Linked DNA regions of Homo sapiens: regions 1, 2, 4, 5, 6 and 7 are each linked to region 3. Evidence: promoter capture Hi-C in 16 types of primary human blood cells and fetal thymus (Javierre and others, 2016). All regions are on one chromosome and are shown on one strand. The core of a region is centred on a gene start or on the middle of the fragment in contact, and the rest is flanking DNA. Distances in the headings are between cores, read along the strand shown.

Region 1 (3,377 bases), core at 73-2,572, 460 kb before region 3:
AAAGCTGGTCTTTCCCTGCCTTCCTCCCTTTCTCTTTCCTCACCTCGTATACAGTCAAATTCAACTAATTCCTAGCTACAACACATTAGAAATGAATGGTTCGCCACCTGGTTCTTCAAGACTGCTCCACAAAAACATAGCAAGGCATTAATTAGTCATAAGCAAGATGCATATTTAAGGTAGATGTTCATAAAATAGCTCTCTTTTGAACGCAATTTAAATTTTCTCAGCAGTATAAATCCATACAGGGTCAGGATACTCCAGTATGACCCAGTGCACTGGGTCAGGTTATGTCTGAAAGAGTCAATGTTTCATTTGGGGAATTTATGTAGCAGGAAATAAGAATCCCTTGTTAGAAAGCTGAGCCAATGCTATATGGGGTCAGTTCTTATGACAATTCATCAAAAGTCCAGCCTCTCAAGATGCCTCTACATTACAGAGACAAACACAGAGACATTCCCATTTCTGAAAGGATTCATGACATTCCTCATCAGAAAACTGCTCCCCAGTGAAGTCTGATTTCACTGTGACCTAGAAACGAGGGTAAGCATTCAGTGTTTTGTCAGCTTCAACGACCTCTCCCCAACAATCCTCACTCATTCTTAATTCCAGAATTTCTCAAAGTAGAAGGAACTCAGTAATTTCATAAACTAGTATATAATTAGAAGTATATACAGCTCAGAGAGTCTGAATTAAACTATACTATGTGTGCTTTTTCAGAAATACACAATACGCTTTAATAAAGAATAGGATCAGTTCCTGAAAATTCACAAACTACTCTCTGCATTTTTAGTCATAAAGCATTCCAGTCAATTAAACCATGGTGCCTTTCAACTTTCTCTAAACACTTTCTATTAATAATGTTAATAATGCAAATCATTCTGTCAAATGTGATAATTAAGCAAAGAATACCAAACAAATATAACCTCTTCTTGAGGACTCATGATCACTTACCATATTTTCCAATGATAGGGTACTTCCCCAGAACATCTAAATCTACAGAGCTGTTTATTCCTATAATAAGTGGCCCCAGACAGAATGTTTTCCACATGCTGCTTCTGATCTTTAATTTCCTGGTCTCCATTTTAATGTCTGAGTGTCCATGTACCTGCTCTGTCAAGAACACAACATGTTTCTTCATTTACTGCCCCCTAATAAGTTTTATTATGAGGTTTTATTAAGTTTTATTATGTACTCTCAGTACATAAACTAGATAAATAATAAATCAGATAATTGAATACACAGTATGAACAAATGAGTTATCTAATGGCTTTCCTACCTTTAATTATAAGTAACATAAATAGCTGGATGTTTAGATTAATTACAACCCCAAAAAAGGACAAAGTTAACTACATTACAATTTAAATTGCTGTATTCTATTAATGTGGACCGCTAATAAAATGATCACTACTGCATTAACTCTTCTGTGATTTATCTTGCAGTTTACTTAAACTGCATACATTCCCCAGACGCAGTTTACAAAATGGATCTAACACTAAGGAAGTTCTCGTTTTTATTGAAAGAAAAGTTAGAACAGGGACAGTTGGAAATTTCAGATTGAGATGGGGAAAGAAATCCCCAACCTCAGGAGAAGTTCATGTTCCTCAACTACAGATTTAACCCCTGACTCCACACCACATTTGAGCCCTGCAAATACTCCTCAAAGGGCTTTCATCTTTATTCTTTCAACAGATACTGACATTCACTGTTTATCAGGCACTGTGCTACATGTTGGAGACATAATGGTAAACGAAGTAAATGCTGGAATTGAAGAGAATGTAAACCTAATAGATCCCCAAATCCTAGTTGATACACAGTAGGCACTCAATAAATATTTTTGGAAGGAAGTCACTCAATAAACATTTTTGGAAAAATCAATCCCTGTCTTCATGGGTCTTACAATACAGTTGTGAGGGGAGACAGTGGCAAATAATTCCACAAACAATTTAAAATGGAAACTGCAGTAAAACTAAGAATAAGTTCAACAACACGAAGAGGATGAAAGGTTTTAACAGAGAAAGTTATTTTAAATTGGAAGTTTATGAAAAAAATTGTGAGGAATTCGCCCTAAAACTGAGGACAAATGAGTTCACCAGGTGAAGAAATGTGTGTAACAGGGGAATGGGATTCAACATTCTCCACTTCTGTTCCCAGAGAGTTAGAAAATTGGCAAAAACATCATTTACTGTATCTAACCATACATCTACTGTATGTAACCAAATGTTCCTGTCAGAAAACAATTGCCAAATTATAACTTTCAAAAAGATGAGAAAAGTATTTATCCCTTGAAAGTATCTCTAAATAAACTACAAGTAAAGCTATTATCTACTGATATTTAATGTCCTTTATTAAAAGGAACTAGTTTTTTTATTCAGATTTTTGTCATCAAGAAAAATAATGCCTAAATTAATACGAATGCAGTGTTTTCTTTTTTAATAGAAATTTATGTAATCCAACAAGTTTTAAGTTAGCAAAACAAATCAGTGCAAAATTCACCATCCAGCTGTATGAATCTACCCCTCCTGGTGCTTCTCTCTACTGTTTTTTCCATCTCTCTGCCTATTCATTCTCAGTCTGTCACTTTTTCTTCCTTTACCTATTTCCAAAAACTAAGGGTGGTACATAGAAAAGTTATCAGGGATCTTTTTCCAGCTACATGGTAGATGTACTTTCATGTAAAGGTTGGTCAATAAAAACACTACAAACCTGAAACCTTTCATATTACAAGATTAATTGCCCACTGACCTAAATGGAAAGTGGAGGCAGAGTAGGGTCTGTTCCAGGCACACAAATCTCCAGTTCTTGCCCTTAAACAAAGTTTAAGCACACAAATATCCCAGTGCTTGCCTTTAAACATAATTTAAGTACAATAAATAACAAACGATAAAAGCTACATTCAAAATAAAGCTTTGTAATATACTGCCTAAGATTATAAGAAAGGGGCATTGTCAGCACATTCCAATCTCTTGTCAAACCAAATACACTTGATGCCTTGGTACAAACCAAAGCTGACTCAGGGACTCTCTGCAGCAGCACTGATCTTACAGTCATGTAGCCAGATTTCCCCTGCCATTTGTTCCCATCTTCCATGCTTTGGTTATAACACAATTTCTGTAAACTGAAAAATCTGCTTCAAGCAGCTCTGCTATTTTTCAATGCTATCGGCTGACATTTTGCAGAATGCTTTTTCCCAAACTCACTGCTCAGTGCATCACAGCAGCTATTTTGGCCTACTTCCTAGAGTTAAACACTCCGACCGCCCTTGTAAAAATATTTTTAGGGTCCTGTTTTCCACCACTAGCATTCTGCTGAATAAACATTTAGATAACATTACAGACACAAAGAAGACTATAAGTTTTAATAGTAAGTATTAAAAT
Region 2 (3,604 bases), core at 1,103-3,602, 360 kb before region 3:
ACTCAACTGTACACTTTGAATGGGTGAATTTTATGGTATGTGAATTATGTCTCAACAAAGTCATTACAGAGAAAAAGAAAGCTGGAGTGGTTATACTAATATCTCACAAGTAGATTTCAGAGCAAAGAAAATTACCAGAGATAAGAAGGGCTATCACTTAAAAGTAAGAGACAATTTCTTAACAAGATACAGCAATCCTAAGCATGACTGATCCTAACAATGGAGCTTCAAAATACATGAAGGAAAAACTGGCAAAATTGAAAAAAATAAAGAGAAATCCACAGTTACAGTTGAGGACTTTTACACTCCATTCTTAGTAATCTACAAGAACAAGCAGAGGAAAAATCAGCAATGATATTGGCACAACTAGACAGCATCATCAACCAACACTGACATTTGTAGGACACCCACCCAACAGCATTAGAATAACCATTATTTTCAACGTACGGAACATTCACCCAGACAGACCACATTCTGGCTCATAAAACAAATCTTAAAATATTACAAAAAAATTAAAATAATACAGCTTGTTCTCCGACCATAATGTAATGAGCTAGGAATTACTAACCGCAAGATAACAGGAAATTCTCTAACCACATAAAAATAAAACAACACATTTCTACGTAATCTAAATCATAACCTGATAAATTAAATTGGGCCTAAAGCTGCCTCTGTAAATAGCAGACTGCAACTTGATTTGAGGTTGTATTCTTGTAACAAGTAGCTGAGTCTCAGCCAATGATGGTAGTGGAGCTTCAGCCAATCACGGGCTGTCAACTGATCAGACCATGTCCGTTGAAGGCAAATGCCTCATCACACCATGACCAAATAAAGCAAATACCAGGCTGGATCCAATCAACTGATTTATGTACGTCACTTCTTTCCTCTGTTTATGAATACTGCCTGCCCATGTTGCTCGGTGGAGCTCTCTGAAACTCTTCTGGTTCTGAGGGCTGCCTGATTCATGAATCGTTTTTCGCTCAGATAAACTCTGCTGAATTTGCCTAAAGTTTTTCTTTTAAGAGTTTCACATGAGAAGTCAGATCTTGAAGCAAACTTCCAGTGATCCCAGGAGCACTGAGTGACCAAGTTAAGGTACCCAGCATGCCCAGTGTACTCACTGCTCTTTCGCAGCAACTGGGGTCATGGGTGAGATTTTTGAATCTAAGCTTCATGAACTTCTGATTTGAGCTGAGTTTGAGCATTTTTGATCTACACTGGGTTTCAAAGTCATGCCAACAACAGGACTGGGCCCAGTAGGGAGGCCTCAGGTATTTGACTGGGTCAGACATAAACTCAACTCAGTTAGTAGGTAGGAAAGGTTAATAAAAGACATAGAATCATGGGTTTATCTGGTCAAAGGTTGCTAGAGCTTCGCCCTCTGGAATTCTAGCCAACTTCATGTATAAAAACCAGAGACCCAGAACCTGTGCTTTTCGAGACGAATGGGAGAACCTTAGCAAAAGTAACTTAGAATGGCTACAGTGGGAAAATTCCTTACGAAAGGCAAACAGGTTTATGTCTTTACAGTTGTAAAGGCTACAGGGCCCAAGAGGATCCCAAAATAAAGAACCCTATGCCCCAAGATGTCTGCCTTTATGGTAAACACTCATGCAACTGGAAAATACATTGTCCACTTTTATATTAGCCATCTAATGGATCCACTACCTTTTGTCTGAACTATTTCTCCACCAGAGAAAGCCCCCAAAGGCTTTAATCCCAAAACAGTAACCCATCAATCTCTCAGGGAGGAAAAACAAATTCTGTGGTGGGGGTTTCAAATCAAACCTGGAAAGTTCCTAATTGACACTTGGACCATTTTCAGAAAAAAAATTTGTAAGAATTAGTTCTGTTATCTGTATTTCATCCTGCTTCTTCCATGGGGATCTCTCAATTGACTGAAACCCCTCTTCTCAAACTCCTGCTAACAATATGCTCTACCAACTGTATACATCTTTTTTTTTATTATACTTTAAGTTTTAGGGTACATGTGCACAACATGCAGGTTTGTTACATATATACATCTCTTTCTTATCATCATGATCCTGACTATGCTCCAAAACTCTTGAAAAACAAAAAAATAGAAAGCAAAACAAAAACTGTGTTGTCATTTATTCTTGAAAACAAAGAAATGAACAAAAAGGATGAACCAATCTCTAACTTTAAGAAAAGATTATAATATTCATGCAGAGTTCGGGCACATAAAATGCTGTATAGACTAAGCAACCCTAATCCAAAAGTCCAAAATCTGAAATGCTCAAAAATCCAAAACTTTCAGCACCAACATGATGTCACAAGTGAAAGATGATGAGGACACTGTTAAAACTGCAAAGTGCCTATAGATGACATGGTGAAAATATGTGATGGGTTTACTGAAGGACTCTAAGAGCATTCATTCATCACAGAATAAGAAATTGTGTCAGTCTGTAAAATCAACAGAGACTTCTAAGACAAAAACCATTGTTAATGAGACAGCGGACTCCAGAGGAAACATTCTGAAAAGTCATCCATCAGAATGCTTCCTCATTTGTAGAGAAAACACTTGCTGGTCACTTGGCTACTTCTGATATTTCTTCTCACTTAAAATAATAAAATTCAGTGAATGATAACCTTGTAATCAAAATACAGCATTGTAGGTAAAGAATGAAAGCCTGCCATTGCTTATTGGTGGCTTTCCGACACAGGCATTCTGGAGATACTACTGTGCTGCTTAGTTACCCTGAACGCATTCTCTTTTCACTGTACTAATGATACATCCTATTTTTTACTGTTAAGCACTTATTTGTGAGTAATGTAAGAAAATGATTACTTATCAGTAGCATAATGAATTTAGAGTCAGGAATGATGGTGACGTCAAATAACCACAGATTGTCCACATGGGTGATTGAGATACTGATACCTTTGCTTTCTGATGGTTCAACGTACGTAAACGTTTCATACACAACATTATCAAAAATATTGTATAAAATTATCTTCAGGCTATATGTTTAAAACATAATGGAACATGAATTTCATGTTTACTTGGGTCCCATTCTCAAGATACCTCATTATGTACATGCATGCCTTGTTTTACTGTGCTTTGCTATACTGTGATTCACAGATACTCCATTTTTTTAAACAAATTGAGGGTTTGTGGCATCCTTGTATCAAGGAGTCTATCAGTGCCATTTTGCAGAACAGCAACTTCTCAGTTTGTCTCTTTGTCAAATTTTGGTAATTCTCACAATATTTCAGACTTTTTCATAACAATCTGTTATGGTGATCTATGATCAGTGATCTTTGATGTTACTATTATAATTGTTTTGGGACCCCATGAACCATGCCTATATAAGATGGTGAACTTAGTAAGTGTTGTTGTGACTGCTCCACAGAGCAACTATTCTCCCATCTCTCCCCTTATTCTAGGACCTCCCTATTCCCTGAGACAAAACAATATTGAAATTAGGCCAATTAATAAGCCTACAAATGCCTCTAAATATTCAAGTGAAAAGAAGGTTCGTGCATCTCTCACTTTAAGTCAAAAAGCTGGAAAAGATTAAGCTTAATGAGGAAGGCATGCTGAAAGCAAAGACAGGCCAAAAGCTAGGCCTAGATTCCTCTGATG
Region 3 (3,759 bases), core at 326-2,825:
TGATGAAGTATTTTGGACTAAATAGTAGTGTCAGTCTTAAATGAAAGGAAATATTTGTCAAGGTTTTTTGTTTATTTGTCTTCAGATAGAAAAAAATGACACATATGTTAAATTCATGATTTTGCTATTTCACATCTATGTTTTACAATTTGTGTGAGCTTTCTCAGTGATTCTGAGGGACTGAGGGACTGGTCTACATTAAAGATTGATAAAAAATGGAAAGATTATCTCATTTGTTTCATATTAAATAGTGACCAAAAGTGTGTTTTGATAAAGGAAGCAAGTAAGCATACACATTTGTTTGAATGGATCACTAATTTAGGATATTACAAATTGATGAGCCCTATTATCCTATTTGTAATTAATTTAAAAGGTTTTCACCAATTATACTAATTATAATTCTTCATGCTAAAACTTTTCATTATAGCCTAGGCTTTAGTGGTTCATTCTGACAATGAAATGAAAGCACATTATAATTTTATTTCTTACACAGTTTCACAAGTGTTTTTAGTGAGATTGCAACTTACTTTAAAAACAACTACATCTCTTGTCTTTTTAGACCTTCTTTAAAGTAAGATAACGTAATGATATTTTTGCAGTTTTAGGAATTTGAGAAAAAACTCATCAGTCCTACTCCCCAAAAGTCTGCTAAGTGATCTGTGCGCTTAAAGCAGATATTTTCTGTTTGTTTTCTATCTTTAATTTACCATAAGGAAATTTCAAGATATTTTTGCTTTATAATTCAGAAATACTTATTTCTAGCCCATCACATTTAAGAATCAATAATAACGCATGTCAGATTCTTTATAATAAATGGCTATATCACATAATTTGAATAACAAATGGGAAAATAAAACTTAGAGAGTGTAACTGGATTGTCTGTAACTCAAAGGCTGAATGCTTGATGGGATGGATATCCCATTCCCCTTTATGTCCTTAATTCACATTGCCTGCTTGTATGAAGACATCTCATGTATCCCATAAGTATATATACCTACTATGTACCCACATAAATTTTTAATATTTTAATTAAAAAAATTATTAAATTGCACTTTAACACTTTCTAACTTATGTGTGAAAAGTTTTCTTCAAATCCTTTTAAACTTAAAATATCACCCTGTCCTTGTGTTTAACATTGAAGATTCCCATTCTAAACTTTGCTATGCAGCTTTTCTTATTAATTCACTATGTTTGTATTCATGATAACTAAAACATCGTTTACATCTGAACTTTTACAGTCTGTCAGATAAAGTGTTTTTACATGTAACTCAACATGCTCCTGGGAGTTAAGATTTTAAAATCACAATGTTCAAAAGTGACAAATGACAGCTTTTAAAGTACCAATCTAACTGGTTGTAACACATCCACAATTGTATATTTTTAGTCTTAATATAAGAAAAAGTTATTAGTTGGTTATATTTACTCTTACCTTTAGAGGCCATGAAGATGTCTGAGTCACTTCTTCAAAGGTTGCCAGGTTGGAAAACAAAGGCTTTTCTTGTTGCAGCAAGGAGAGAAAACGCAGCATGCACAAAACTTCAGAACGTGTTTGTCTGCCTCTTGTCAGCTTACATATAACAGAGGAAGGGAGTCCCTTGCTGTTTCTAGACTTCTGGACTTTATCAGTTTGGACAACAGAGTGAGATGAAACTGTCACAAAAGTAAACGCTGTTCAGAAACCATCATATAACTTTGGTGGCTGAAGGAACAATTTAAAAATAATAAAAACCAGAAAGGAAAGCACACAGCACTCATTTTAAGTGTCTTTTTTTTTTTTACCAAGTTGTTTTTGTATTTCTTAGAATATACACATTTGCATTCAGTCTTATATCAGAAATATCCTGTATTTCTCAATTTCTAGAAGTCTCCTTTCCAGATTCTGTGATAAAACATCCTATTGTATAAATTTTTGATAGTTCTAAATACAATTCTTTACATGTTGAAAATGTTTGAACATTATTATTGTTATTTTTCTATTGGATTTATCTCCATCTCTTCAACTCAAAATAAATAAGAAGAGGATATATTCCCTACTATTATATAAATAAATCTTTATTTTCATTTTTAATTGAATTTGATTAATCAGAGGCATTGGAATATACAAACCTTCAATAGCCTTGCAAAGCTAATCAAAATTTACAGATGATATTTAACTGCATTGAATTCTAAGGAAAGAAAACAAGTGCTGTAACCTTGACTGGACAGCTCCTATTTCTAAATGCAGCTACCCAGGTGACCATGGAGATTTTGCTCACCAAGTCAATTGCCCTACATGGTATGATTCACAAAGGTTGAACATGCAGGATATATTGCATTATCAGCAACACTGTCTTTTTCTGAAAATAGTTAAGAGGCTTCAGGAGGTATACCTTGTGATGAAAAATTATAAAGTCAACCTCACAGTTTGCAGACTGCCAAAAGTTTGAGTTTTCCTTATTTGACAAAGAGGAGTGGTTTTGTTGTTGTAGTTTTCTTAGTGTTTGGAGTTGAAAAAAGCTACCATTATTTAAGTTGTCGTTTTGCAGAAAAGATGTGTGAATATGATTAATATTTTTAAATTAAACTGTATGTTTCCTAAGTTTTTTCTAATGTTTGTCGTGAGCATTTAGAAAAACTTTAATACAAAAAATTAAGTTATTAACACTATCAAAGAAGATTAAAAAAATTTTTTTTATTATACTCTAAGTTCTACGGTACATGTGCACAACGTGCAGGTTTGTTACATATGTATACATCTGCCATGTTGGTGTGCTGCACCCATTAACTCATCATTTACATTAGGTACATCTCCTAATGCTATCCCTCCCCTCTCCCCCCACCCCACAACAGGCCCCGGTGTGTGATGTTCCCCTTCCTGTGTCCATGTGTTCTCACTGTTCAATTCCCACCTGTGAGTGAGAACATGCGATGTTTGGTTTTCGGTCCTTGCGATAGTTTGCTGAGAATGATGGTTTCCAGCTTCATCCATATCCCTACAAAGGACATGTACTCATCATTTTTTATGGCTGCATAGTATTCCATGGTGCATATGTGCCACATTTTCTTAATCCAGTCTATCATTGTTGGACATTTGGGTTGGTTCCAAGTCTTTGTATTGTGAGTAGTGCGCAATAAACATACGTGTGCATGTGTCTTTGCTCAGCAAAAGGAACTACCATCAGAGTGAACAGGCAACCTACAGGATGGGAGAAAATTTTTGCAATCTACTCATCTGACAAAGGGCTAATGTCCAGAATCTACAAAGAACTCAAACAAATTTACAAGAAAAAAACAAGCAACCCCATCAAAAAGTGGGTGAAGGATATGAACAGACACTTCTCAAAAGAAGACATTTACGCAGCCAACAGACACATGAAAAAATGCTCATCATCACTGGTCATCAGAGAAATGCAAATTGAAACCACAATGAGATATCATCTCACACCAGTTAGAATGGTGATCATTAAAAAGTCAGGAAACAACAGGTGCTGGAGAGGATGTGGAGAAATAAGAACACTTTTACACTGTTGGTGGGACTGTAAACTAGTTCAACCATTGTGGAAGACAGTGTGGCAATTCCTCAGGGATCTAGAACTAGAAATACCATTTGACCCAGCCATCCCATTACTGGGTATATACCTAAAGGAATATAAATCATGCTGCTATCAAACAAGATGTTTTGAAATGTGGTCAGAATTCACCAGTTAATTTTGACTGCCCTACACAGCACAAATTTTGGAATAAAAATAAAAATCTTAGTGAATTAAACATATTTGTGAA
Region 4 (3,738 bases), core at 442-2,941, 480 kb before region 3:
TGGATCTGGATTCAAACTAGGCTAATCTAGAAGCATTAATAGTACTTGCTCTAAAAATTGGCCTCCTCTGGCCCTGAGATTTGTTCCACAACCCATCTGGAATCCCTAATCCTAATGCAACATTGGACCCAACGACATCTGAGAGTCTACTCTGTGCAATACACCATGTTAAGCACCACCCTCTATGTTCTTTCCACTACACTAGTGGTTGTCAAATTTCAGTGTGCATCTGAATCTCATGGAAGCCTTGTTCAAACACAGACTTCAGGGTATCACTCCCAGGATTTGTAATTCAGTCGGTCTGAGGGGGAGCCTGATTATTTTTTCTTTCTTATCAGTAGCCAGGCAATGCAGATGTTGGTGGTCTGGGGTCCACACTTTGGGAACCACTGCATTACATGAGGAGAGAGCAAAAGGATCATAAACTCCAGTAAGTTAAGTGGGGATGGGGTCCAAGATCTGATATTATACTTTATATAGTTATTTGCCTTGGGACAAGTTTTCCTCATCCAGAAATAAAGTAGTATCTACCTTACATGGTTCATATAGTGACTTAACAGCATATCATATATAAAGTTCCTTACAAGGTGCCTTGCACATAAGAAACATTCTACTCTCTCTCCATTCTGAACCCTAACGATTCCCCAACTAGATTTCAGCATTATTTTATCCTAATTTTATTTCCACAGTGTCTCCTATCAGTGCATACTGCTACATTTTCCATCTATCATAGTAACATATTTCTAACATGTTTTTCATTTATCCTATATTAAACATCTAGTTGTTACCACTACATCTCTTTTTCAGCAAAGTTTAGCTGTTTATTAGCTGTTCTATATTAACACTTAGCTGTTCTATATTTACATCTATACTTAGTATTCCAGTGGTTATTTAATAAAAACTACCTTTTTAATATACTACATACTCAAATGGATCAGTTTTTCTCCAAAAAGTAATCTTTCTTCTTTTTTAAAAAAAAAGTTTTTTGCTTTTTGTGTTCCTACCTAGGTATCTCCTTGTTCTCCTCTTATTTGTAGAAAAGACTTGGCTGACAGATCCTTCTTTCTATTAAAAAAAACAAGTAAGTAAATAAAATGGCAGGCCTCTCATAGCTGAGTTTAATAGTTCTATCAATTTCCCCAAGTTTCCTCTGATCACTTGTCAATGAGATGTTCACCTGGAGATAAGTTTTCTAAAATGCTTTGGTTAAAAATACATTAACAATCCTCCCAAATACCTCTAAATGAAAACAAACAAACAAACAAAAAAAGCAAAAACAAAAGCAATTCTCAATAATAGACAGAAAAGGCACCCTCTTCACATTTGTTTCTAATTCCCTGCAAACAAAGAATCATCCTACGATAGCAAAACCCATTACAGAAAAAATTATGCAGTCAGTGAAAAAAATCCCTGCCAAATCTTATTTACATTGTATTTGTACATGACCTGCCAGAAAGAAATTATATATATATATGCAAATACATATTAACTTTTTTTTGCTGTTTTATAGAGTATATTTATACAAAGCATTGGCAAAAATTCAGAAATTATTGTTTGAGTGGCACAGCATTATTTTATCTTAATTATTACAGGTGCATAATAGTTGCATATTTATGGGGTACATGTGATATTTTGATACAGGCATATAATGTGTAATGATCAAATCAGAATACTTTGGCTATCCCCTCACCTCAAGCATTTACCACCATTTCTTTGTGTTAGGAAATATTAATAAAGCCAAAAACTACATGAACTAACAGTAATTATGTAACCAAATGCTATCTTCCTTGTGAGGATTACAGATTGTACTGCTGTTATGAAAAACATACTTTAGGCACACATTATAGGATCTTCATAGGTTAAAGGATATACCATACCTTCACAGTATAATTGAAATATTTGGCTGACTGCATAAATCGATGGAATCCATCACTTTCTTTTGTTGCTACAGTTATGACTAATAATTTATCTGCAAAGACAAAAGGAAACAAAAGAAGGTTTACCAAGATATCAAATGCTCACATTTTACAACTCACTACAGTAATTGAGACCTCACTAAACCCGTGGGAATATTCTGGTTTACTTATCTACACAAGACTAAACAAAGAGCTGTCGAAAAAATAGATGACTCAAATTGGTTGTATTACTGCCAAATGATGAACCTTCAAATGACAATTATTTCAACGCAAAAAAGTATATTGATGATTAAGAAAAATCATGCCATCAATAAAGTATTTCAATATTGAGAAAAACTTCCATAAAATGAACTTTATAATCCATGATTAAGATTCTCTGACATTATCTAATCAACAAACTTCAACATCATCGATAAATCATTCCTGATTTATGACATCACCAGTGAGGAGATCAGCAAATTACATTCATCAAAATAATGACATACACAAAAAAAACAGATACAATCATTAAATCTGATTCTAATTTTCTAAAATAAATTGTGACAACTGGGAGCAAATATTTAAAACAAAATCTTAATTTTTTTCTCCTATCCGGGATTGCTTTTTCATGAAAATTCTTACAAGCGACAACATTATTTATTGTGTTTTGGTTTCTCTTTAAAGAATAAATGGAATCAAAATAACCACTGCCCTAGTAAATATACAACTATTAGCTACCATTTTATAATGAAATATTACTTTCAATCCAACATAACACTTCTTTTTAGTAAAATTAGATAGATTTAAGGAATTGTCTCAAAACACCTACATAAGCTACTACAGATAATGATTATTTTTAATAGGAAAAGGCATGTTGGAAAAATGCACAAAAGAAACAAGTGCATCAACAAATGCCAAAAGGGCTGGAACATTTTTTTTTAACTGAAGATTTAGAAGGACCTACACACTAAGAAAGCAAAACTAACATCTTTTCAATATTCTCTGAGTAACATCATTTGTTTCTCACTTGCCCTCTATTTATAAGAAAAGAATTCAGGTTTTGAGTATCCCCTAAGCAACAATCACCAAACATGGCAATAATGCATTATAGGAATCAGTTAAAAATTATAGCAGATGAACCAATGTATCTATCTGTCAAATTTTGAAAGTAACTACAATAAAATATAAGTAAGTACAATATACAAAGAAATACTAAATTCAAACATTCAATAGTCAACCAAAAAAAATAATTTCCATGAAGATAAACATCAACATTCTTAGATTTTTTTCTAAGAAAAAGGTATTTCTTGGCCAGGCACGGTAGGTCATGCCTGTAATCTCAGCACTTTGGGAGGCCGAGGTGAGCATATCACTTGAGAGCAGCAGTTTGAGACCAGCCTGGTCAACATGGTGAAACCTCATCTCTACTGAAAATACAAAAATTAGTCGGGTATGGTGGCACACACTTGTAATCCCAGCTACTTAAGAGGCTGAGATAGGAGAATCGCTTGAACTCGGGGGGCGGAGATGGTAGTGAGCCAAGATCACACGGCTGCACTCCAGCCTAGGTGATGAGGCCCTAGTAAATGTATTTTAAGAATACTTTTTAAAATTAACTATTTAAAAAAGTTTTCATTTATAAAGTTTCAAACAGAGCTTAACTGATTATGAAAATTTAACATTATTCAGAGTAAATTTCAAAATAGGGAATACCACATTTTATTTTATAAGAACAAAGAGCTTTTTAAAGTCTATCTGTAATAAAATTACTCTATTTAAAGTTACATTTCTTAAATTTGTCTATATAAATCATAAGAATTAACTACAAGTTTCAGTTTTTACT
Region 5 (3,306 bases), core at 500-2,999, 420 kb before region 3:
GGGACTGGATGGGTCTGGGCATGTCTTCCTGAGGTGGTGACATGAAGAAAAGGGGTAAGCTACCTGAAGACGTAAGAATGATCTAGGACCCTTCTGGGAAACAAAGCTTTGTGAGTAAATGGAAAGCCACTGGTGGTTTTCAGAATGGAGTAATTTAATTTGGTAAAGATGGGTTTAACATAAGTGAGTGAATATGGTGAGTGTTTCAACTGAAGCATAGAGTTTATGACACGAATTCTGTTTTGTAGTTTGCAGAATAGGGGGTCATTTCTAAAAGATGAGTTCCAAAACTGTGTTAACAAAAGAGACCTTAGGAAATTATGCTCACCAGGCTCTCACCACAACTAAAGTCCTGACAAAGAATATTTTGTTACACACACACATGAGGGCAGATAGGTTTGCAAACAATTCAGTGTGTTTAAAACCCAAACAAATGAGTTATCTGTAGCTAGATAACTTGGCTACTCACATTGCTTTTCTTTTCTTTCTTGGAGGGTTAAATATGATGTTTGATTTTTTAAAAAATTCCTCATGAAAACTTTAATGGCATATAGAGTCTAGAGTTTGTCCAAATGATCACATTCAAACAGAGGGGCCCAAGGTAAGGCAGTCACCTGAACTCTAAAAACAGAAATGGGTCATGATTCACTAGGGGAAGTCTTGCTAACATGGACATACGGAAACATAGAATCCATACACATTTTTTTCACCATTTCGTTTACCACTCAGACTTTGGGTTTCTTCCCGTAAGTTTGTCTGTGACTCAGTTTTAGTTTCAGATGACTTAATGCTTCCATCTAATCAAGGGAAGCGAACATGATTATTTAACATATCCATGATCCCCAGTTACGATGCCAGGAGCCTCTAAGAGGGCTAATCTTGTGGCCTGGCATTTTTCATTTTTTCTTTTTACTTAAAAAAAAAAAAAATCATTGCTTACATGTGGCCTGCTAACCAAACATTTCTTTTATCCCTTGAGGATATTTCTGGGTCCATTTGCCTTGATAGCTCATAAAAGCCTATCCAAGAGCCTAAGTTACCTTGTATAGAGCAAAACTAGACCAGTTCCTACACTTCCTTCTTTGCTTTTACTTAGTAAAAATGCTAATGTTTCCAAGGGCCAGCCTTATCCACATACATTATCTCATTTTAGTTCTCACAATCACACTGTTATCAAAACAATTCAGGCATTATGGCTTTAATTTACAGATGCAAAAGTGGAAGAGCACAGAGCTTCGTGTCCTGCCTAAGGTTATTAGTAAGGCTGGCTGCTACACTCAAGCCAATGTCTGGGCCCCACAAAATTTAGTACAGTTTAATACATCACAATGTTTCTGTAGAACACATCCCAAACTTTATATATTATTTCCTACCCCAAGATGAGTATTAGACACTTATAACTTAAGTGTTTGACGTGCTCTTATTGTATATTTGTTATCTATCATCACAGTTTGTGTGGTTGATAGAGAATTCCAGAAAATGAAGTGTAACAGTTGTTAGAGATAATAGTCCTTCCTTCTCTCTCTAGACCATTATGGAAAGAGACTCTGTGGTTTATATTTGAAAATGGCACTGAAAACAGCAGTTAGGAGATAAATTTATTTTATTTTATTATTATTATACTTTAAGTTTAAGGGTACATGTGCACAATGTGCAGGTTTGTTACATATGTATACATGTGCCATGTTGGTGTGCTGCACCCATTAACTCATCATTTAGCATTAGGCATATCTCCTAATGCTATCCCTCCCCCCTCCCCCGACCCCACAACAGTCCCCAGAGTGTGATGTTCCCCTTCCTGTGTCCATGTGTTCTCATTATTCAATTCCCACCTATGACTGAGAACATGTGGTGTTTGGTTTTTTGTCCTTGCGATAGTTTGCTGAGAATGATGATTTCCAGTTTCATCCATGTCCCTACAAAGGACATGAAGTCATCTTTTTTATGGCTGCATAGTATTCCATGGTATATATGTGCCACATTTTCTTAATGCAGTCTATCGTTGGACATTTGGGTTGGTTCTAAGTCTTTGCTATTGTGAATAGTGCCGCAATAAACATACCTGTGCATGTGTCTTTATAGCAGCATGATTTATAGTCCTTTGGGTATATACCCAGTAATGGGATGGCTGGGTCAAATGGTATTTCTAGTTCTGGATCCCTGAGGAATCGCCACACTGACTTCCACAATGGTTGAACTAGTTTACAGTCCCACCAACAGTGTAAAAGTGTTCCTATTTCTCCACATCCTCTCCAGCACCTATTGTTTCCTGACTTTTTAATCATCGCCATTCTAACTGCTGTGAGATGGTATCTCATTGTGCTTTTGATTTGCATTTCTCTGATGGCCAGTGATGATGAGCATTTTTTCCTGTGTCTTTTGGCTGCATAAATGTCTTCTTTTGAGAAGTGTCTGTTCATATCCTTTGCCCACTTTTTGATGGGGTTGTTTGTTTTTTTTCTTGTAAATTTGTTTGAGTTCATTGCAGATTCTGGATATTAGCCCTTTGTCAGATGAGTAGGTTGCGAACATTTTCTCCCATTTTGTAGGTTGCCTGTTCACTCTGATGGTAGTTTCTTTTGCTGTGCAGAAGCTCTTACCTAGGAATCCAACTTACAAGGGATGTGAAGGACCTCTTCAAAGAGAACTACAAACCACTGCTCAAGGAAATAAAAGAGGATACAAACAAATGGAAGAACATTCCATGCTCATGGGTAGGAAGAATCAACATCGTGAAAATGGCCATACTGCCCAAGGTAATTTGTAGATTCAATGCCATCCCCATCAAGCTACCAATGACTTTCTTCAAAGAATTGGAAAAAACGACTTTAAAGTTCATATGGAACCAAAACAGAGCCCGCATCACCAAGTCAATCCTAAGCCAAAAGAACAAAGCCGGAGGCATCACGCTACCTGACTTCAAACTATACTACAAGGCTACAGTAACCAAAACCGCATGGTACTGGTACCAAAACAGAGATATAGATCAATGGAACAGAACAGAGCCCTCAGAAATAATGCCACGTATCTACGACCATCTGATCTTTGACAAACCTGAAAACCACAAGAAATGGGGAAAGGATTCCCTATTTAATAAATGGTGCTGAGAAAACTGGCTAGCCATATGTAGAAAGCTGAAACTGGATCCCTTCCTTACTCCTTATACAAAAATTAATTCAAGATGGATTAAAGACTCACATGTTAGACCTAAAACCATAAAAACCCTAGAAGAAAACCTAGGCAATACCATTCAGGACATAGGCATGAGCAAGGACTTCATGTCTAAAACACCAAAAGCAATGGCAA
Region 6 (3,782 bases), core at 568-3,067, 500 kb before region 3:
GAACCATAGAGATTGAAGAGGAAAGCCCAGAAAATAAATAGACAAAGCAGCAGAGCATCGTGGAAGCAAAGGGAAGGAGCATTCAAGTAGGACCAAACGAAATCAATGAATTGTCAGATGCTGTCTTTAGGTGAAATAAAAATAAGGGCTGAACAATGTCCACTACTCAACAAAGATTTCACAATGGACCTTAACAGGAGCATTTCTTACTGTGATGGGAAGAGGTGGAGTAGTGACAGCGAGTTATCTATATTTTAAGAAACTTTGGCTGTGAAGGGGAGGAGAAAAGCCAGGTGCAGCCTGGAAGGCAGTGTGGATTGAAGAGGATGTTCTACCTTGTGTTGGCTTGGTTTGGTTTCATTTGTAAGATGGAGGAGACTTACTGGTCTTTAAAATGCTAATGAGGAGATGACAGAGCTGGGGAAACTGATTATAAGATAGAGACTGAAGGAGGGCACAAGATAGAGATTGCTTTGTAGGAAGGCTGGAATGGGATGAAAACCAAAGGGGAAAGATTAACTAGAAGAGACGGGAATCTACTTCTTTCAGTTTGATGGAGCAGAAGTTGCCAGCATGCGTTTTCCTTGCATTTCTTTCCATTCACATAGCTTTTCCTGGAATTCAGATCACTCACTCCTCTGGAACAGAAGCCCACATCCCCCAGTATTTTCTTCCCACAACAAAAATCTGTTAATCCCTTTTCTAGGTACTTAAACCAGGCATTTCAGCATGTCAGAAGGTTGTTGTAAGCACAGTATTACTATATTTTTTCAATGCAATTTATGTTCCAGCTTGATTGGACCCAAGCAAAACAAACTTTTCATCTATAAATTTTGCAGTCAATAACATTTTTAGCAAGCTCAATTATACACATTTGAAACAGAAAGGCATCCAAAATTTTATTGGTCAAATTATGTCACTTTCATTAACTGTAGTTAATGAAATAAGAGAAAGAGGAAGCTTTCTGGCCATATTGTAATACCCCAATCTTAACAGTGTTGTTAACTTAGAAAACGGCAAGTCAGGTGAAACAAATGATCTCTTAATGTCCTGAGCAATTCCTAATGAGAAAGGATACCCAGTATGAGAGAAATGTGGCTCACTCCCAAGTTAGTTGTTATTATTTAATAAAACGCCAAATGTGCTGTAAATAGAATAAAAGGCTATCACTCTGCTGAGGAAAAATCAGTTTGATTAATTAATTAGTATAAAACCAGATGATATACTGTGTAAAAGATGAAGTCTTTATTTTAGCACCAAAATAAAGTCTTTGAAAGAAATTTTTAAAAATAAAATAGATGACATTCCACATATCAATCCATAGTCTATCTCCAAGAATTGGCCAAATAAAAGTAACTGTTACTTACCTTGGTGGGTCCATTTCCATTAATTGCCACTGGTAATGTTTCATAAAATGTATTCTTAGCTCTGGCTTTGCCATTTTCAAATTTTAAAACAACTTCATCTGGGTTAAAAAGAGAAAATAGGCTTTAGTAATTTAAAATACGTGTGTGTGTGTCTGTATTCGTGTGTCTGTGTGTGTATGTGTGTGTATCATCATTACAAAATTTCTCATGGATGTAATATTCCAAGTGCTACAACACTTCTAGTAACTTCATCTACTCCAAGCCAGCAGATACCCAAAATGAAGGATGACAGTGACAACAGATACAGATACCAAACTCACTCCAACCTGGCACCAGTAAAGTGATTGAGGTGCTAAGCCAGTGAGCTGTCTGTCAGAATAATTCATCTTGCAATCCTGCCTTTGCCCCTTCATAGTATTGTTATTCTTGCCAAGTTAAATTAGTAACTCAGTTTAGTCATCTATCAAATGGTATCCACGTCTGTCTTTTAGGGTTATTATGAAGATAATAACAATATATGCATGGTGAGTAGAATATTGTCTGGCATAAGCAAGGGTTCTACAATTGGCTACCAATGATAATATTTCCAGTTCTTAAAAATCAGACTTAGCACATTAAGCAAGATAAAACTCAAGTCAGAGAGGAGCAGAGCCATCGTCTTAAAATTTCCTGAGCACTCCAAACTAAACATTTTGCATTGTGGGAATTTTTTTTTTTTTTTTAGAGACTGGGTCTCACTTTCTGGCCCCGGCTGGAGTGCAAGGACACAATCACAGGTCATTGCAGCCTCGAACTCCTGGGATCAATCAATCCTCAGCCTCTCATATAGCTGGGACTATAGGCACGCACCACCATGCCTGACTAGATTTTAAGAATCTTTTTACTAAATGGACTGACTTGAAGTATTGATTGAATTGCAATATATTCTCAATTTTTATATGTATATTTAAAAGTATTTATGTGTTAATAAATTATATTTTAAATTTTACTGTATTGATTAGTTTTAATGTATTTTATCAAGATATATGTATCTATAATACACAGGCACATATGCATATCCACACGAGCATGTACACACACACACACACACACACACACACACACACACACACACTCTTCCCCAGTCTACTGTCTAGTTGTCACCAGTTATCTTTCAGCTGGGTCAAAAGGATCTACTCTAATACTCTGGGTAATTCGTAATACAAAGAATTTCACTAGAAAATGTGTAATAATAAAGTGTAATTAATTTATAAACTTATCTAAAATTCCCAAATGGTGAGACACTAAATTTTAAGTTACCTAAAGCCAGAAGCTTATCTTTTTCACACTAGTCATAGGAAATGATTTTAATTTAATGTACTGATGTTAAGTTCAAGTCTAGTATTTTTGTTAAGTTACAATAATTACAATATTTACACTGTCGACCTTAGTCACAGCCCCCAAATGGACATAACAAAGGAAAGATAGTTGAAAACACAGGTGTTTGTTTGTATACGTAAGCAATCCGGTATTTAGGAAGCATACCTACAGCTCCATTTAAGGTCTGGAAAATTTTGCATTTGTGATCCAATGTGATGTTAATAGCTTCCTAAAACATAAGAATAGAAATGATATTGAAAATGACAACAAAAACAGCAAACATTCCTATCATATTAATATAGTTTGTTCTTTGAGGGAATTTAAAGTTTAATATTCTTATATCTTAAGTGTCTAATCAAAATATTTAGATGACTAAAGTATTTAGCTAAAAGGTAGAAACTGCGATAGTTGCAACTCATTGCAAAATACACTTAAAGAAAATCTTGTTTCCTAATGACAGCAACTACAAACACACAAGTAACTTTTATATCTGTATCCAATATATACAGTAAATTTATTAAATATCAACTTATATTGGTAAATATGATAAAAGTATTCTCAAATTAGAAAATCTTGCTTTACTGTACTCCAGAGTTTCACTCACATCAATTTCAGGAATATTCTCTCTAGGGTCTATGGAAGACTGCTTATTGTACCCAACATTCCCTCAACTCCCCAATAAGGGAACTCAGATTTCAGGAGCATATATCTGCTTAAAATAAAAAAACAGATTTTCCTTTGGGTATTATGAGTGGGCACATACATACGTTCTGATCAAAGTATGAGAAACTATTTGGTAAGACTTCTAGAAAGGCAACTTAAAGAGAGTGATGAAACTGAGATGGCCTGTTTTTACTACCGTGCCTCTCTTAGCTGCCCAGAATACGAATGCAACGACTGAAACTCAAGTAGCAATTTTGGACAAGGAAGTAAGATTAAAACTGGGAGCTATGGACCAATGGTGGAGCAACAAAAGAGCTATCCCTCTTGACAGCATAAAGCCTCCCTAACAGCCTTGTGCTCCCTACTTCTTAATTACTTTCAATGTGACAGAAG
Region 7 (3,422 bases), core at 897-3,396, 340 kb before region 3:
TATATACGCCATGCTTATATGTATGCATACACTAGATATGCTTACATGTGATTACATAAGCATGGGGAAAAATGGAAGAACAAACTACTTTTATAAATATGGGTTATCTGGGGTGTGGCAGTAGTGGAAAGAGGAAAAAAATGAGAAAACTGTGGCTTGAGAGGATAAGTAACTTGACCCAACAAGTGATGGAGCTGAGATCTGAACCAAAGTCTGTATTGAATCTAAAGCTTACTGTCATAAACTTTGTTTAAAATGTTATGATATTCAATTCAATGTAGAAAGAGACAGTAAAACAATCTTTTTCAAAAGCGTGCTCTGTTCCTTGAAATTTAATTATAGGGTATCTCTTTTTTCCTTTCACAAAGCATATTAACCAACTTTTCTGTCTATTCATAGAGATATATTTAAATCTTACTTTTTAATTTAACAATATTTTATCTTAGGTATACTTCAGACAGATTAATACAAATATATCTGTGAAATGTCTAAAACTATTTTAAATTTAGAGTATTTATACTTTACTAATGGCTAGGCCATGTGATCATTACGTATTTATATATTTTTACAAAATCCTAAAATGGTTAATGCAGTTCAACAAAAATTTGAGGAACTAGAAAATTTTTGAGGCTGGCATTCCCAAAAGCAAAAATGAGAAAAAGGAAATATTTCTTGAAGTCAGGCAAGTAATTTAACTATATATCGATGAAAAGAGTATTTTAAATTCAAATTTTGTACACGGCAGCCTCGTATGTCACAATCTGCATAATTATTATAACATCAGGGCATTTAATTCAATAGTGTGAATGTTTAAGTTGTGATTAAAGACACACAAGTTTGCCATTGTCCTTAAATGTCGATAAATAACAAATTCTTTTTGTATAGTGTCTATATGCAAAGTGAATTATTTGCTGATTTAAAGAATTTTGGCTGAATCAGATCTACTGACATTTTATGTATATATTTAGGAATGTGAGTTATTCAAGTATGTGTCAGTGATTTAAAATAATGAATGTTAAAAAATTTACTAAAGTCTTAAACATGTAATGAAAAGAGTCTATTTTTTCTACAAAATTGCTCAAGACTTCTGAAATACAAAGCTGATAATGTCACTTCCAGGTTAAAGTCTTTCATTTTTCAGGGAAGATTTTTCATTTTAAAGCCTACAGTTTTCAAGAAAACTCTTAATATGTATTGTAGAACATACAGCCCTAATTTTCTTGCATTTGCTTAATTTTTTTTTTTTGCTTCACCATGTAGCACTTCCCTGTTTTCCATGTTCTAGTGATATGCTAGATACTATATCTATCTATCTATATACATATATCTGTATCTGTATCTATATAAATTCACCATTGTATTATGTTGGTTCATGACACTGTGAGGTTTATGACTTCATAAATATTTTGCCACTGCTTTATCCTCATTTCTCCATCTGGCTACATTCCATTCATTCTCCCAGACTCATTTTAAATATCACCCACTTTGGGAATCCTTCCATGACCTCTCCATTCTGATTTACTGAGTACTTTGAGCTGGTTCTATACTAGGTGCTGGAGATTCAGTAGAAAATAAGACAGGGTTTCTGCCCTCCTAGAACTTACATTCTTGTCAGATCAGAGCCAATAAACAACGAAGTGGATTGCAAAATAATTTTAGAGCATGAAAAGTAGTTTGGAAGTAATAAAGCAAGGTGATATGGAAGATGGTGAGGTGGGACTACATTACAAATAGTATTCAGGAAAGGCATCTTGGTCACTGGAGAAAGTAACATTCATGCCAAATGATTAGAAAAAAACAACTAGGCAAACATATGGTGTTTACTAGTATTCCAGAAATAGAGAACAACTAGCATAGAGATCCTGAGGGAGGAATATTGTATGCTGACAGAACAAAACAATACAAAACAAAACAAAAATAGGTGGTGCCGGAGCAGGAGAGAGAGTGGCATGAGAATAATATGTAGTTCATGAATTCATTTTATTTTTATTTCAACTCCTTTTATATGTTTCTCCATGCAACTCCTTGCCTAGCCCTTCCTAATTCTGTTGTATTTACCCATAAAACTAATTGCTGGCATAGGAATTCCCAAAGTGATATTACTCTCTGCAAATTACTTTTGTAATTGTGGCCTGTATATTTAAATTTAAACTGGGTCTGGATATATAATGATTTATATTCAATATATATTTCAACTAGATATTTTCTGAAATGTTATTATTACACATAATAAGGCCATGATACAATTATAAGAGATGCAAATAATTTCAGCTGCATCCACAGGGTGTTTTGCAAGGAGGAACAATCTAGAACTAGAAACCTAACAAATTTGAATAAGGTTTGAAACTAAATTTATACAGAGAAGAATATCAGCCAGTTTTCATAATTTGGAAAGCTAGTAAATTCTAGCTTTGGAGCTTAACATGATGAGGGGGTTGAAACACACATAAAAACAGCATTATGTTATTTCATTCAACAGATATTTTTAAAGTACTTATCTACCCTGAGCTATCTGTTTGGATTCCTTGGGAATAAAAATAAGGAACAAATAGTGAAATAAAGCATCCATTTGAAAGCACAAAACAACCCCAAAAACATGTTATTTACTTGCATCTGTAAAACGCAAAAGGAATAACATAAACTGACTCAGAAGCCTGTGGTCTCTGTCTTATATCTGTGAAGCCATGTGTAAAAGAAACTCTGGGGTGGGTACAGGTGACAGACATTCTCCTCATGACCTTAATGATGTAATTACTGCCTACCTATCACAGGATGCTATTCACACTCATTAGCAGTCCCAGTATCTTATCTCTTCCATATTAATACTTTTTCACCTACCTATTAGGATGCAGAAATTGAAAAAATACTTTATAACTAGAAACAAAGAAATCCTTGACCTGTGAAAGGAAAACTAAAAAAGAGTTGTAATTACTGTTACCTGTCATTTCTCAGTAATACCTTAATCTTGCTACACTTTGGGTAGAGAAGGAAAGAGGAAGGGCAAGGAATGGAGGGTCAGAGTGAGACAGGGTAGCCTGAAGAATGTTTAAGTTTTTCCAGCTGTATATAGTTGTTAAGTGTCTACAGGGCTATGTTTACATAGAAATGTAATTATAGAACACAATTTTAGGAAAGCAAGTCTCATTGATGAGACTTAAGTTAGTGCATGGATGTATTAATTGGACTTTGTGAGAAAGACTTTGGAGGGAATAAAATATGATTTTACAGTGGAGCTGAGATAAGAAATGTATATTAATAGAAAGAATTGAGATATTCTAATGCATGAGAAGTAAAACAATGCCACAAAAGCAGAAACACAACAGTTTAATAAAAGTAGATCCAAAATTGCTCATGCTACTCAGCTCAGTTAGAATGGACTTCATCTGTCAGATGCATCAAAAGATAAAAACAAGGGCAGCAGG

What was found. The method cuts DNA at HindIII sites, captures the fragments that hold promoters and counts their contacts. A CHiCAGO score of 5 or more calls a contact.
Region 1: a fragment that was not itself captured here is called in contact with the fragment with the promoter of PLSCR5 in region 3 in 6 of 17 cell types (monocytes, total CD4 T cells, activated CD4 T cells and 3 more); the score reaches 8.3 in monocytes.
Region 2: a fragment that was not itself captured here is called in contact with the fragment with the promoter of PLSCR5 in region 3 in 12 of 17 cell types (monocytes, total B cells, naive CD4 T cells and 9 more); the score reaches 9.0 in monocytes.
Region 4: a fragment that was not itself captured here is called in contact with the fragment with the promoter of PLSCR5 in region 3 in 1 of 17 cell types (monocytes); the score reaches 6.1 in monocytes.
Region 5: a contact is called between a fragment that was not itself captured here and the fragment with the promoter of PLSCR5 in region 3, in 4 of 17 cell types (monocytes, naive CD8 T cells, total CD4 T cells and 1 more). The highest score is 8.2, in monocytes.
Region 6: a contact is called between a fragment that was not itself captured here and the fragment with the promoter of PLSCR5 in region 3, in 2 of 17 cell types (naive B cells and M2 macrophages). The highest score is 6.4, in naive B cells.
Region 7: a fragment that was not itself captured here is called in contact with the fragment with the promoter of PLSCR5 in region 3 in 9 of 17 cell types (naive CD4 T cells, monocytes, neutrophils and 6 more); the score reaches 7.5 in naive CD4 T cells.

The regions. Positions count from the first base shown.
Region 1 is chr3:146,139,865-146,143,241 of GRCh38, forward strand. The region is part of intron 1 of PLOD2 (procollagen-lysine,2-oxoglutarate 5-dioxygenase 2); the gene reads right to left. Among named protein-coding and RNA genes, the nearest start is that of PLOD2, 20 kb to the right of the region's middle. The HindIII fragment of the contact is 3,166 bases long and covers 1-2,905 here.
Region 2 is chr3:146,241,284-146,244,887 of GRCh38, forward strand. All of the region lies in intron 1 of PLSCR4 (phospholipid scramblase 4), which reads right to left. Among named protein-coding and RNA genes, the nearest start is that of PLSCR4, 8.0 kb to the right of the region's middle. The HindIII fragment of the contact is 2,371 bases long and covers 1,168-3,538 here.
Region 3 is chr3:146,603,771-146,607,529 of GRCh38, forward strand. PLSCR5 (phospholipid scramblase family member 5) reads right to left here and starts at 1,576. Exons shown (of 8, transcript NM_001085420.2): 1 at 1,430-1,576. The coding sequence starts at 1,442. The HindIII fragment of the contact is 8,012 bases long and covers 1-3,759 here.
Region 4 is chr3:146,122,261-146,125,998 of GRCh38, forward strand. It overlaps PLOD2 (procollagen-lysine,2-oxoglutarate 5-dioxygenase 2), which reads right to left. Exons shown (of 20, transcript NM_182943.3): 2 at 1,878-1,969. Among named protein-coding and RNA genes, the nearest start is that of PLOD2, 37 kb to the right of the region's middle. The HindIII fragment of the contact is 4,362 bases long and covers 1-3,738 here.
Region 5 is chr3:146,180,565-146,183,870 of GRCh38, forward strand. All of the region lies in intron 1 of LOC105374145 (a long non-coding RNA gene), which reads right to left. Among named protein-coding and RNA genes, the nearest start is that of PLOD2, 21 kb to the left of the region's middle. The HindIII fragment of the contact is 3,290 bases long and covers 105-3,306 here.
Region 6 is chr3:146,101,388-146,105,169 of GRCh38, forward strand. PLOD2 (procollagen-lysine,2-oxoglutarate 5-dioxygenase 2) reads right to left here. Exons shown (of 20, transcript NM_182943.3): 6 at 2,892-2,955; 7 at 1,368-1,465. Among named protein-coding and RNA genes, the nearest start is that of LNCSRLR, 34 kb to the left of the region's middle. The HindIII fragment of the contact is 1,719 bases long and covers 959-2,677 here.
Region 7 is chr3:146,261,105-146,264,526 of GRCh38, forward strand. No RefSeq gene overlaps it. Among named protein-coding and RNA genes, the nearest start is that of PLSCR4, 12 kb to the left of the region's middle. The HindIII fragment of the contact is 3,837 bases long and covers 229-3,422 here.